3 separate regions of the Homo sapiens genome follow, and regions 1 and 2 are each linked to region 3. The links are contacts of gene promoters, found by promoter capture Hi-C in blood cells and fetal thymus (Javierre and others, 2016). All regions are on one chromosome and are shown on one strand. The core of a region is centred on a gene start or on the middle of the fragment in contact, and the rest is flanking DNA. Distances in the headings are between cores, read along the strand shown. Region 1 holds the start of ZFX-AS1 (ZFX antisense RNA 1). Region 2 overlaps KLHL15 (kelch like family member 15). Region 3 holds the start of POLA1 (DNA polymerase alpha 1, catalytic subunit).

Region 1 (4,808 bases), core at 241-2,740, 540 kb before region 3:
ATAAACAATGAATACATGCTGTTACTATTTTTGAAAGGAAATTTAATCGCTTGGAAAAATTCAGACTAAAGCCCCGAGAGGAAAATTATCATCCAGTGCATGCTCAGAGATTTCTTCTTACTCTACTTTTGTTTTTCCTTTTTGAAAGCATTTGTGATTGAGAGATGTCTGAGGGAAGGGACAAATTGCATTCTGGGAGTTTTAAAGAGTTATGTCAGGCAACTAAAATACGTGGCCTCTGTATTTAAAGAGATTTCACACCAGTATACTATTTGCTTTATAATTTTTGTGTTTCTTATTGTTTAAAAATGCCTTTAACATTTAGTGCTGTGTTAAAGGATAGCATGCCAGATTCCAGATTAATGTAAAGACTCCACTATTTAACTTTTCCCTAGTAACTTTAAAACAGAGTTTGGGTTCCAAGTTCAGCATGGAAAGATAGCATAAACATTTAAACTAAGTAAAGTGCGAAATACACATTTTTGAAGTTGGTAAGTGCTGTTTAATCATTTTCCCCTTCTCTCCCAAGTCTTTTGAAACTTCAAAAGGCTTGTTTAAGCAGTGTGTTTAAAAAAAAAAAAATCCATACCCAATTGGGCTCCTCTCTATTAAGGAATGTGGAAAATTCATGATTTATGAAACGATGACACCAGTCTTACATTTCACAGGCTCCCAAGCTCTGAAACACGGGTACATAGGAAAATACACAGAAAATTCCTGTTCTTTGCAACGTGCGAAACGTTTCAAAATGCAACTTTGCTCATCTCCCTCCCCCGTACAAACTAATAAAATCAGTTTGGCTCTGACTGCTTATTTTTAAAAAGTAGACGGCCTGGTAGGTGCTCTAGGGATAACCCTTCTCCCCCCACTCCACCCCCCTTCCCGCACACCCATTTAGACTGGCAAGCCCGTTTTCATTTTATTTCAAAGATTTTTTTTTTTTAAGCGAAGGCAGGGGACGGCGGGGGTTGCTAAATTTATCTTCCTCCCCAGCCACGGGGATGAAGAAAACACATTTACTGCGGGCGGGGGTCTGAGGGCCTGCAAACAACTCGAGCTGGAGCCTCGGCCAGGACCGGCGCGAGAGGCGGTAGGTCTCCAGGGAGGCCCCCGGGGGGCGGCCGCGGCCCACGGGACATGGTGGGGGGCGGCCGGGCCGCCTGCCTCTCCGCGGGGTCGGCCGACCGCGGCCCCGCGCGGGCTTTACGGCCGAGGCGGCGGCGGCAGCGGCGCGTGTGTGGCGGCGGCGGGCGGGAGCGCGGAGGAGGTGGAAAGAAGGGGGGCGCTGTCACGGAGACTCCGGCCGCCGGAGACCCCGCCGCAGCGAGGCCACTGGGCTCCCCGGTCGCGGGGCGGGAGCGGCGCCGACACGGGGTGCCAGGAGGACCCACCGGGCGGAGGAGGGGGCCTGTCTACCCTTCCGCATTTTCCTGGGTCTCTCTCCCGGGCGGTGACGTGACGTGCTGACGGCGGGCCCGTGCCGGGGAGCTGGGCCGCTTTTTGTCAGCTCCGAGCTCGGCCCCTCCTCCCTCCCTCCGCCCGCCCCACCAGCCGGAGCCCGGCCCAGTGCTCCAGAGAAAGGCCGGCCTGCAGCACCCGCCACCGTCGCCGGCCGCCCGCACGTCCGTCCGGTGAGTCCCGGGTGCCGCCGCGGCCGCGGGGCCTAGTGCGCGCACAGCGGCCTGGTCTCGGCCTGGTCGGCGGCCCGCAAGGCGCCCTCCCGCGCTAGGCCGGGCGGCGTGGCGCGCGGCGCCGAGCAGGCCCCGAGGAGGCCGCAGTTAGGCCCGGGGAGGAGCCCGGCTGCCCCGAGCGGCGGCGGAGGCGCGCTCCGTAAGCGGGCGGGGGTTGGGGGAGGGTCGCCCGGTTGTGCCGGAGGCGGTCGAGGGGCCCCGGGTCGGCTCCGCGGCCGACCTGGGGCACCGCGCCGGGGTGAGGCCTGGCGAGGAGGCGAAGGCTGCAGGCGTGAGGTGAAGGCCGCAGGCCGGCCGGGCCGATTTTCGCTATGTAAATATCGGTGAGGGGGGGGGAGGGACGGGGGACAAGATGGCGGCGGCTCGGCGCCTGCTGCAGGGGACGATAGAGGGGGTTGCCGGGAGGGGGAGCCGCCATCTTGGAGGCGGTGTCTGGAGAGAAAATTCCGCTACAGCCCGTGAGGGGGGGTGGGAGAGCGGGCGGCGGCGGCAGCGGCGCCGGTGACGGGCCCCGGAGGCCCGGCGCGGCGGCGTGTGCGCGCGGAGGGGCGTGCTCGCTCCCCGTGGCGGCCATTGCCCTTGCCGCCATGATGAGCGCTCGGGCTCCAGGCGCTCGGCGGCAGCGCCACCTTCCTGCCTTGCCTCCCGCAGCCCCGTGACTGGCTGCAGTTTCCGCTGCGTTTCAGCTGAGCTGCCGCAGGCGGCCACCGCCGCCGCCCGGACGCCGGGACCGTTTCACCCTCAGCGCCCCTGGCCCTGCGCCTTCCCCCGCGCCTGTAGCCACCCGAGGGCAGTCGGGGCAGGTGGCATTCCGGACACCTGGGCTTACCAGGGCATACGGGACCCCAGGAAATGTTATTTTTGCTTAAGTCAAATCATATGTGGCTGCTAAGGTGCTTTCGATGCAGTTGTTTTTCCAACAATCTTTGCCGCCCCGAGTATCTGAATAAAGGAAGAAAAATAAAGATTGATGGGAAAGTTTTTGCCATTCTTTTGTCCTATAGGGAAAAAAATTGCACAACACGAGAGCGGAGGAATAAAATTTTGAATCATTCGTACTCATTTATGTGGAAACAACTTTCTTGAAAAACGATTTAAGTAGTGATCTGTTGGTGGTATTTTTTTAAATCGAGGAATAAGGGCAGACTTTTTTATTTTCTTATTGGAGGACAACTTAGTGTGGTGCATATTTATTGTGCATTTGCCTGTCATGGTATTTCGATTTTTCATTTGTGAAGTTTTAAGGCGGAGTTTCATCCCCTAACGTACTTTTTTGATTGCACACTGTGCAACTTTCTTGATAAACTCGGAGCCTACTGTTAGCGATGCACCGTGCTAGATGCTAAGAAACATTAAAAAGGTTCTTGTAATGCAGACGGTGGCTGCAAGAAGTCTCATGTTTAGAGGTAGGTGGGGCAAGGTGAAATGCAGTAAAGTGAGAGGTACAACTAATTACTGGGATTTCCGAGGGAAGCAAGGTTGCCATTGGAGGATCAGGGAGGGACGGGTTCCTGAAGTATTAATAGGTGGCATTTTGAGAAGGTTACCGAGGGATGGGTAGGACTTTGTTAGGTAGAGGTGGAGGTGGAGAAAGGACGTTTCAAGGGTGAAGCTTCTTCAGTAAACAGTAAGTATTTACAGTTTGGCAAAAGTGGATGGTATAGGTAGGGGAGTGGTGGGAATTCAGGCTAGAAAAGTTAGATTGCAGAAGGGCTTGCTTGCCAGGTGGAGGGGCTTATACTCAATGGGGTAGGCAGCGGGGGTGCCCTCAACTAGAAGAGTGATGGCACACCTGAGCTGCACCTTGTTATTTACTTATTTTTTATTTTGAGACAGGTTCTTGCTATATTGCCCCAGGCTGGTCTCGAACTCCTGGGCTCAAGCCGTTCTCCCGCCTCCCACTGCCCGCCTGTCACTGCCGTCTGTTCCCTGAGCTGTGCTTTACGGTACTTAGTAGTTCCATTGGACTAGGAAAAGTTTCAAAGTTGAAAAATAATGAGAGTAGTAAGTTGATCAGTGTTTTCATTATCAGAACGATTACAAGAATGTTCAGAAGTTAAGCAAATTTTGCTACTTTTGGAACGATGCGTCTCTATTAAGACAGCTGCTCCTTTTTTCTATCCTGATTTCTCATCCGAAATAATCTTTTGCTCAGAGTTGTCAGAATTTCTATGGTACACAAATAGGGAGGGGTTTCTAACATTTCATTTACCATGGTTGAAAAGTACAGGACTAGTGCTGTGGGTTATTTGACGAAAATGAGAAATGAGTATTCCCGTGGTAATTTTTTTTTTTTTTTGAGACTGAATCTCACTCTGTCGCCCAGGCTGGAGTGCAGTGGTGTGATCTTGGCTCATTGCAACCTCTGCCTCCCGGGTTCAAGTAATTCTCCTGCCTCAGCCTCCCGAGTAGCTGGGACTACAGGACCCTGCCACCATGCCTGGTTAATTTTTGTATTTTTAGTAGAGACAGGGTTTCATGTTGGCCAGGCTGGTCTCGAACTCCTGACCTCAAGTGATCTGCCTGCCTTGACCTCCCAAAGTGCTGGGATTACAGGCATGAACCACCGTGCCCTGCCTGTTTCCTAGAATTTTATGATGGAAACCTTTAGGTGGCATAGATACCCATTTTCAGTTTTTCCATTTTTCTAGACTGTAACAGGTCGTGAGCAGCGGTGCTCCATGAAAGGGCTGGAGGGAATGAGAGTCTCATGTTTATTATAAAGGGCTATGGTTTAGAAAAGTTCGAGAAACAGTGCATTGCATGAGGCTGACTAGAAGCAAGTTGAGAAGGCGGGCTGTGGTTGTTGAGGTGTTAAGGGTAAACATAAACTTAGAAGAACCAGGTGCTTTTATATTTTGACAGCTGGGAAAGACATAGAAGAACTATTAAGAAGATAGAATTGTTTTGCTGCGCAGTACAGCAACAGTGGATGTTCAAGATTAAGATTAGAGTCAAGTTGTGTGATTAAGACAGGTAAGTGTGTAGTTTAGTTTCAATTAGAAATGGTTAAATATAAAATTATTTTTGCCTGAAAGGGTAGACCTTGAAACTTTGGAAAACTGACTGGTGGAACACCTTCGAACCCAACCACCCTGGATGAATAAGGTGTTAGTT
Region 2 (4,950 bases), core at 351-2,850, 670 kb before region 3:
CCATGGCTCCATCTTTCATTTCTCTTCAATAAAAAAAAAAAAGCACCACATGAGCTATAGCACTCCAATTCAGAGAAAATAGATGCTAATAAAGTAATCCACCTCCTCTAAGCTAAAGATTCATTCTCCTCACAGTTAACATTATTCACTCTCAAAACATTTGCACTGGGAAAGGCCAGGCTTGACAACAGGCCACCTACATCATTTGCGGGGACTCTTGTTCAAAATCAGGGAAAAATGTTGTTAAAAGGCTGGGCGATGGCCGGGCGCGGTGGCTCATGTCTGTAATCCCAGCACTTTGGGAGACCGAGGCGGGCGGATCACTTGAAGTCAGTCGAGACCAGCCTGGCTAACATGGTGAAACCCCGTGTCTACTAAAAATACAAAAATTAGTCAAGCATGCTGACGCGCATCTGTAATCCCAGTTACTCGGGAGGCTGAGGCAGGAGAATCACTTGAACCCGGGAGGCGGAGGTTGCAGTGAGCCGAGATCGCGCCACTGCACTCCGGCCTGGGAGACAGAGCAAGACTGTGTCTCAAAAGATAAAAAAAAAAAAAAAAAAAGGCTGGGCACGGTGGCTCCCGCCTGCGCTTTGGGAAGCCAAGGCGGGTAGATCACTTGAGTCCAGGAGTTCGAGACCAGCCTGGCCAACATGGTGAAACCCCGTCTCTACTAAAAATACAAAAATTAGCCGGGCGTGGTGGCGAGCGCCTATAATCCCAGCTACTTAGTAGGCTGAGGCCCAAGAATCGCTTGAGGCCGGGAGGTGGAGGTTCCAATGAGCGGGGATCGGATCGCACCACTCCACTCCAGCCTGGGCGACAGAACAAGACTCTTGTCTTAAAAAAAAAAAAAAAGTCGTTAAAGGTAATAAAATGTAAAGCTCTTTCAAAACTTTCTTCTGTATCTCTCAACTGTTTCGCGGTTTTTTTTTTTTTTGAGACGGAGTTTTGCTCTCGTCGCCCAGGCTGGAGTGCAGTGCCGCCATCTTGGATTACCGCAACTTCTGCCTACCGGGTTCAAGCGATTCTCCCGCCTCAGCCTCCCGAGTAGCTGGGAATAGAGTAGCTGGGATTACAGGCGCCCGCCACCACGCCAGGCTAACTTTGTGTTTTTAGTAGAGACGGGGTTTCTCCACGTTGGTTAGGCTGGTCTCAAACTCCCGACCCTCAGGTGATCCGCCCGCCTCGGCCTCCCAAAGTGCTGGGATTACAGGCCTGAGCCACCGCTCCCGGCTCTCAGTGTTTTTTAAATTTGATGTTTAATGTCGTTCTGAGTAAAGGAAAATTAAAAATTTAAATTAGCATGAATTTTACCATTCACCCTTATACTGTACAATCCCAGTTTTACATGCAGATTATTAAACCAAGTGTGGGGCCCTTCTGAACATCCATGAAGCCAAGCCTGCCCTGATCAAGGTTAGGTTTCTGAGATAACCCGACTCGAGGTAGAGAGAAGGTCAAACCTTGAAATCCCCAATAAAGCAATGATTTGTCAAAATTTTATCAAGATTAGTGATAAATCCAATCTATAAAACCAGCCACTTTGAAGTAGGCTCTTCCTTTTACTATGTAAATCCTGCCCAACTTCTATTATTTTGCCTTTTTACAAAACACAAAAGCATACTCTGAAAGACAACTGGTATTGGACTAGAGGATTATAAATTTAATAAAACATCTAACTACTCAAAACCATTTGTTAGCTAAAAATAACAATATACCCAAAAATGCTTCTCTTTTCACTTTTTGTGGACCATTTAAGCCAAACCATACTATATTTTTGATATGCCAAGTAAAAATGATCAATACTAATCTGTTACACATATAAATCCTGGCAAAATAAATTCAATTTTCAAACCACAAATATTTACTATCCTATTCTTTCCCCAAATTAATCAGCAATGAAGAGTGCAAGTTAACATCCTCTACCACTGATAAACTGTGACTCTAAGCACCTACTACGTGTTGTGATTAAAAATGAGAATAAAATTATATAATTACATTAAGTGCTAAAAAGTTGAAATGTTCTATACATTTCTAGATCTATTAAGGATTACTGAAACATGAATGCATTGATAAGCTCTTCAAAACCAATTTTCAAATTAGTAGAAGTATTCAAGCATCCTGCTCCCTAGATATGAAAAACAGGCATTAAAATTAGGGCATATATGTCTGCAAAGCATTTTCTAAATTACCACTTAATCAGATTAACAAAGGCAAACAAATTCGGAAAACAGAAAAGACTAACAAATGTAAGGTGTTAAATATTTGGAGTAAGAAAAGGGGCCTAAAGCGGCCTAGAACGATGAAAAGCAAAGCCCCTACGGTAACGTTACATTTGAATTAAAGAATACCGTTATTTAAATAAGCAGTTAGCACTTCGTAGGAGGAAGGCCAAGCAACGTGACTATTACAGATCTATGGATTCACAGCACTGCTTTACTATTATTCCGTACTTATTTGCTTATATTTATAATATAGAAATAAAGAGGCAGCAACAGTTAGCCACTACATTAACCACTCTACCAAAGGTTACTTAAAAAACGGCCTTGCATTCTTACAACACTCTACAGTTAAGGATTATTTTCACATATATGACCTCATATAGTCCTCTCAACCCTGCGATGTTGGTAGTACCGACTATATTTCATAGATAAGAAACCAAGGCTCGGTACGCGATTTTTTCTCAGAGTCACCCAAGTCGAACCCAGACCTTCCGATTCCTAGTTTTATGCCTCGCATTTTGCATAGTTCTATTTCAGGCATAAATTGAATTGTTAAAGGGAAGGAACGGGTTAGGCAAAAAATAATCATGGTACCTGCAGCTGTGTGCTGCAAAAAATGGCTGAATTATGCTTCTTCCTTTTTCTTTCTCGCTCTCTCTGGAAAAAAAAATTACATTTCAAACAATTTAAGTAAACTCGAAGACAAACGAGGTCCCGGCGTCTACCAAATGTTTGACTCGGGTCCGTGCAGAGAGGGCCGGCGAATTCGTGCCTAGCTCGGGGCCGCGGGCGAAGCCCGGGCTCCGCAGGCCGGCGGCCAGGGGCGGCTACGTACCTCGGGGGGTCCTGTCCAGCCTCTAGTGGACGGCAGTCTGCATCAGGAAGAACCGGGCCAGCGGGCCGATGGGTGGGCGGTCGGGCGCCGGGACGGCACTCGGCAGGCTCCTCGGACGTCTACGAGCAGCCGCTCCCGGCACGAGCCGGGTCGCTCCGGCGGGGCACGAGAGTGCTCGCCTGCAGCCCCCTCTGGATAAGTCCTGGGAAAGAAGACAGCGCTGAGTCGAGAAACCAGACAGTCGGGCTCCGCACGAGGCGGCGCGGCGTCGGGGCCCGGACCGACCTTGCCAACGCCGGGGGCCTCGCAGCACCCGACGGGGCTCGGCGGGAGGGCCGACTGGGGCCGCGGGCGGGGAAAAGGGCTGGGGGGCAGCAGGCAGAGACAGAAGCACCAGCCGAGGAAGCGTCGAGGACGGCGTCTCTGGGCTTCTGCCCCGAAGCGCGCCGAGCCTCGGGATCACCCACGCCGGGGGTGGAGGAAGGCGGGAAAGGGGCGGGGAAGGGGCGGGGCGTGCGGGGCCACGAGCCGGGGGCCGCTCCGGGCCGCGCGCCCCCTGCGGGCCGCGGGAGCCGCCCGGGGCCCGCCCAGGGAGGCGGGGCTGGCCGGCAGGGGGCCCAGTGCGCTGTCGTCTTGACGCGGAAGGCCGCCACGCTGGGAGAGAGGGCGGAGGGTGGGAAGCCGTTGGGGGCGGGGAGCTGGCCCGGGAGGCCCCCCCCTCGGCCCCTGCTGGCGCCCCGAGGGGGCCAGCCCGTGGCCTGGCGGGTGTTTACCTTCCCCCTGGTCGAGCGCCAATGCCGCCATCTTTCAGCCCAAAACGCGTCACTTCCGGCGCCACGGGAGCGGGAGCGGGTGTGGGAACGGGGGGGAAGGGGGGGCGGGGAAGGCTGTCCCGCGCCCGCGGCGCCCCGCGTCCCGGCTGCCGGCCCGCCACGCCAGCGGTTTCCCACCGAGGAAAACAGGCGGCCGGGCGTCGCGGCCCTGGACTGGGCCCGACGCAGCTTCCCCCGCGGCGCCGCCGTCGGGGCTGAGGACACTCAGCTGTCCTCGTCCCCTTGCAGCGGTCTCTCTCCGCCTGCACGAGCGATGGGCCCTGAGCCACTGCGGTGCGCCCACCCTCGACAAGTTGAGGGCTAGGAAGCCAGGAAAGTGTCTTTTTGCATCTTGGCCACGGTGGGGGTGGGGGAATCGGGGACAACGTGGAGGGAGCTTTTCCATAGCTACCTGTTATAAAAGTGACTAGATCTGCGCCAAATGACATCATTTTTTGTAAGGCAACTTGCAGTGGACTATTGCGTCACTGTCCACTTGGCTTACTGCACAACAATTACACGTTTCAGAAATCGATTTCCCAAGGGTGGGAAAATTCATAAAAAATTGCATGTCTGCACCACCCGGAGATAATGCCGGATTTAAAAAAGCTGTCTCTACTTGCGTCAAAATAATCAAGAACGAACATTCAGAGGGCAGTGATTTTTGTTGTTCGTTTTTTATAGAATTCTAGCTAGTACTTTTTAAATATTACCTTTTCTTGACAAGAATATAAAACTAGACTATAGGACTGTTTTGTAAATTTATTATGGCATCTCTTTCTGGGAAAAGTGTAGATGACGGAAATACACAGTTGGAAGCCCGTGGATCTACAATTAACCTTAAATTAGGGCATCCATTGCCCATAGCAGATCCTAAACTGAGGTATTTCGGCTTCCCCCACCCCCACCCCCCGCCGCCATTTTCTCTCTAGACCAATATCCCGATGAACTTTCCGTGAGAGGTGTCGCTAAAAGCGATAATTATCTCTTTCTAGCAAACTTGAACATACCATCTTTCCCAAGAGGCCAAAATAGCACACGGTGTACTGTTTTGCTGAAGTAGACTACTTCGTGGGAG
Region 3 (4,576 bases), core at 1,904-4,403:
TAATGGTCTCCAATTCCATCCAGGTTGCTGCGAATGTCTTTATTTCATTCCTTTTTACTGCTGAGTAGTATTCCATGGTGTGTGTGTGTGTGTGTGTGTGTGTGTGTGTGTGTGTGAGATATATACACACACACATATGTATATATACACATATCTCACTTTTTTTAACCTACTTGTTGATTAATGGGCATTTGGGCTGGTTCCATATATTTGCAATTATAAATTGTGCTGCTGTAAACATGCGCGTGCAAGTATCTATCATGTATAATGACTTCTTTTCCTCTGGGTAGATACCCAGGAGTGGGATTGCTGGATCAAATGGTAGATCTACAAAAGTAAGATATTTTAGCTGCAATCAGATATGACTACTTTCCACTTGGTGGTTTGCTGGTAAACCTTAAAAAAATAAAAAGCTCTGATTTGTACCACTTGCCAATTTCCAGGGTGTAAATATTCCCACCATGACTGATTTCAAGCTACCAACAGTTTAACATGGAGATTACAAAATACTGGAATATTTAACAATCAGCTCTTGAGAACCTCCAACTGTCCCTCTGATACACTTCGCTTCTTGCATAGTAGCAGTGAAATAGGCATAGGCATTTTGGGATTCCACTATGGGGAAATGGAGTTGATATTGCATTTAGTTTGGGCTTATTTCTTCTATTTATGTGGGTCGAAGGCACTTAACCCACATATATACTTAAGCCATATATACTTAAGTTATTGATAGACTTTTTTTTTTTTTTGAGACAGAGTCTCACTCTGTCACCCAGGCTGGAGTGCACTGGCACAATCTCGGCTCACTGCAACCTCTGCCTCCCGGGTTCAAGCTATTCTTCTGCCTCAGCCTCCCAAGTAGCTGGGACTACAGGCGCCTGTCACCACACCCGGCTAATTTTTGTATTTTTGGTAGAGATGGGGTTTCATCATATTGGTCAGGTTGGTCTTGAACTCCTGACCTCATGATCTGTCAGCTTCGGCCTGCCAAAGTGCTGGGATTACTGGCGTGAGCCACAGCGCCGGGCTGTTATTCATAGACTTCTTGGTGTAGGAATAGCTTCCAGGAATATTTCTACCCCAGTGTGATGACTTACCAGGAGTTTTGAACTGAAAGTGTAGGGCCAGAAGACATATCATGGTATGAAAGTGTCTGGCCTGGCATGGTGGCTCACACCTGTAATCCCAGCACTTTGGGAGGCTGAGATGAGTGGATCACCTGAGGTCAGGAGTTCAAGACCAGCCTGGACAACATGGTGAAACCCCATCTCTACTAAAAATACAAAAATTAGCCAGGTGTGGTGGCGGGCGCCTGTAATCCCAGCTACTCGGGAGGCTGAGGCAGTAGAGTCGCTTGAACCTGGGAGGTGGAGGTTGCAGTGAGCCGAGATGGTGCCACTGCATTCCAGCCTGGATGACAGAGCGAGACTCCATCTCAAAAAGAGAAAGTGTCCTACAGGTCTTTTCCCACAAAGTATGTGGGTCATTGTCTCAGTCTGTTCAGGCTGCTATAACAAAATACCACAAACTGGGTGGCTAATAAACAACAGGAATTTATTTTTCACAGTGCTGTAGGCTGGGAATTCCAAGATCAAGGTGCCGGCAGATTCAGTGTTTGGGGTAGGCCCACTTTTTGGTCCATAGATGGTGCCTTATTGCTCTGTTCTCACATGGAAGAAGGGGCAAGGCAGCTCTCTGGAGCCTCTTTTCCGAGGGCACTAATCCTATTCATGAGGGAGGGTTCCTGCTGATGACCTAATCACCTCCCAGAGGCCCTACCTCCTAACACCACCACACTGGTGATTAGGTTTCAACGCATACATTTTATGTGGAGAGAAACATTCAGACCACAGCAGTAGTGAAAGAGAAAAGAGGTTTGAAATGCCTAGAGTTATACCCGGGCATGTGGGAAGTAATCAGCTGTGAAATTGTTAAGGTAAGGATTTGGTTCTTATTAATGACTAGCCAACATGGTTCTCTCCTGGTTGGAAAAAGCTTGATAATAAAACTATAAAACTTCCATCAGTTTTTAAAAGGGAAGTGTAGGAATAAATCTGTCGTAGTACTTTAAATAGGAAGTTATGTCTAAGTGTAAATTACTACATGTTATGTATCACAACATATGGATCACATAACATGATATTAAATGATTATGAAGCTGAAAGACATTTTCTAAACAATCAGAAATTAAGAAACAAGTATTGATCAACCATGCTAGAAGACAGATTGAATTATCTTTATATCCTCTTTGGAGAAAATATTACAAAATTGTTGTCACATGAAGAAGGGATCAATAAGCATGTGGGCAATAATGTAGGAAAAAATACAAATGTGTGGCAGGCATTATTTAATAAAAATGTTATACCTTTTTGGAAAGAGATAACATGAGATGTACACATTACAGCCATTGTATCATACACAAAAATTGAATACCCTTTTTGTTTTTCATAACATTGAAATTTTGGAGTTCACGTCAGGTGTTTTGTAGATTGTCCTACATTTTGAATACATCTGATTGTTTCTTCATGGTTAGATTCAGGTTAGACATTTTTTGCAAGAAGACCATATAGGCGAAGTTTTTCCTTTTTCATACGCATTACATCAGGAGGCATATGAGATCAGATGGCCATTTATTGGTAATGCTACTTCTGGTTATTTGGTTAAGACGGAGCATATATCTTTAAGTTGTTAATCACACAGCCACTGTATCCAGACTGCTGAGAAGCAAACTATCAGGCAAAATTCAGGGCGCGCAGCAGGAGGCAGTCGCTTTCCCGGCTCTGGGGAAAACGATCCAACCACGCCCACTCTCCTGCCCGCCCGCGCCTCCTTTCCGGGAAAATGGGCTCTGAGAACCAGAGCGCCCTTTCTCCCACGCGCCCAAATCTTTTCCCATCAGCATGCGTGCGCTTGCGCAGTCTCCAGGCGGCTCCTTTCCAGCGCCCGACCGCTTCTTTCTCCTGCTCTCCTCCGGCTTCCCCTCAGCTCTAGCTTTTCCCTAAGGGGTCATCACAGGGCGCCAAACGCGCGTCCGCGGGAAGGCCGGGGGCGGAGCGCGGCGCGGCGCGGCACGTCAGTGGCCTTCCGGCCGGAAGTCCGCAGCCTCCCGAGCCGCTGATTGGCTTTCAGGCTGGCGCCTGTCTCGGCCCCCGCGCCAGTTTTGGGCTGGTTGGCGCGGAATCGGGAGATTCGGGACCATGGCACCTGTGCACGGCGACGACTGTGAGATAGGGGCGAGTGGTGAGGGACAATTCCGCGCGCGGGGCTCCGGGTTGGGACAGTGGCATGATTGCCGGTGGTGGGGGTTCTGAGGGAGGCGCACACCCGGGTTTGTTTGGGCGCAGACCTTGGTCGTCCCCGGCGGGGGCCCTTCTGGCGTCGGACCGGGCTTCCTTTAGGCGCGGTTTGCTCTTGGAGGACCAGAGCCTGGAGGGATTTTTGTTTGGGAGGCTGTCTCACCTCTGCCACTGAGAGTCTCCACAGTCGATTGCGTTTCTATTTCTTTTGGTGAGTTGCACCCACGTGCTGGGTATAACTTTATTGAGACTGGCCCCGTGGGGCCGAAAGTATTTCACTGCGATCTCCCTAAGTATCCACTTGAAGGCTTGAACAGAACAGATCTGTGTCCCTTTTTGTAGGAACTTCCAGGAAAATTTTATACATTGTAACTAAGCAGGAAAGAAAGCTCTAAGTGCTGTCATCGGGGAATAACGCGTTTTGTATTTTTAGGTAATGGGTTTCTACTTTATGCATTAACAATTTTTCTTTCAGATTCTTTGGAAAGTTCTTCAAGTGCTGCGTAGAAATCCTGTTCACAATCTAGTCATTCCTGGTGAAGTTTCAAAAAAATGGCATCAATTTAGGGCATTTCGGATCCCCTGTATATCACTCCGTTTGTCAGGGGTGTCTTTTATTTCCAAAAATAGAATACAAAAATGCAAATAGATTTGTCTGATTTTTTAAGTGTTCAACTAAAGCGTGACTTCAGTTAACTTCTAACTTAAAATCAGATGCTTCACTTTGTTAGCTCAAGCGTCACCTCTCCTGTCATTCAGATACATCACCATTAATGAGAACTCGCTTCCTAATCAGCTTCCTTTGCATTCACCTAGTTGTGAGTCACAGATTTCAATTTGTTCTAGCCGTTCGTTTTTTAAGACTATTTTGGAGAGTCGACCTGCCTGGATTACAGATAGGATGTTGGGTGTAAGTATGTGAACGAACAGTCTTTGCAGGCCTCTATCAGTGATTTGCCACTAAGCCCTTTCTTCATCCTAAAAACTACGTCATCTATGAACATCAGGAAATCACTTTGGAGGATACTGTGCAATCTTGAGACTCCTCTTAGGTCATGGTGTTCATTAAGTAGTTGCTGGGGACTTGTGACTGGAATTTTTCCTTTAGAGCAGACTGAAGGATTGTTACCTGAAAGACTGCTGTAAGCTAGTGTCTGTCTGCTTTTGGGGAGGATAGAGATACTCCAGATGGTAATTTTGAAACAAATATTTAAACCTTTGTAGCTGGATTTTTTTCATGCTTATTCTTTTTTTGCTAAGTTACCTACGTGAAGCATTGG

Evidence for each region. The method cuts DNA at HindIII sites, captures the fragments that hold promoters and counts their contacts. A CHiCAGO score of 5 or more calls a contact.
Region 1: the fragment with the promoter of ZFX-AS1 here is called in contact with the fragment with the promoter of POLA1 in region 3 in 4 of 17 cell types (fetal thymus, monocytes, non-activated CD4 T cells and 1 more); the score reaches 12.3 in fetal thymus.
Region 2: a fragment that was not itself captured here is called in contact with the fragment with the promoter of POLA1 in region 3 in 1 of 17 cell types (fetal thymus); the score reaches 5.1 in fetal thymus.

The regions. Positions count from the first base shown.
Region 1 is chrX:24,148,164-24,152,971 of GRCh38, forward strand. It overlaps ZFX-AS1 (ZFX antisense RNA 1), which reads right to left and starts at 1,491. Exons shown (of 3, transcript NR_046657.1): 1 at 1,392-1,491; 2 at 590-679. It overlaps ZFX (zinc finger protein X-linked), which reads left to right and starts at 1,566. Exons shown (of 10, transcript NM_003410.4): 1 at 1,566-1,631; 2 at 3,528-3,637; 3 at 4,557-4,667. RefSeq lists enhancers at 903-1,002, 1,209-2,022 and silencers at 1,113-1,472, 1,533-1,942, 1,963-2,012, 2,063-2,572. The HindIII fragment of the contact is 5,789 bases long and covers 1-3,301 here.
Region 2 is chrX:24,021,797-24,026,746 of GRCh38, forward strand. It overlaps KLHL15 (kelch like family member 15), which reads right to left. Exons shown (of 4, transcript NM_030624.3): 2 at 3,061-3,262. Among named protein-coding and RNA genes, the nearest start is that of KLHL15, 2.9 kb to the right of the region's middle. RefSeq lists silencers at 3,142-3,221, 3,232-3,381, 3,392-3,461, 3,542-3,981, 3,992-4,091 and enhancers at 3,754-4,258, 4,259-4,762. The HindIII fragment of the contact is 6,826 bases long and covers 1-4,950 here.
Region 3 is chrX:24,690,765-24,695,340 of GRCh38, forward strand. It overlaps POLA1 (DNA polymerase alpha 1, catalytic subunit), which reads left to right and starts at 3,154. Exons shown (of 37, transcript NM_001330360.2): 1 at 3,154-3,240. The coding sequence starts at 3,198. RefSeq lists enhancers at 1,123-1,623, 3,326-3,415 and a silencer at 2,976-3,135. The HindIII fragment of the contact is 2,747 bases long and covers 1,994-4,576 here.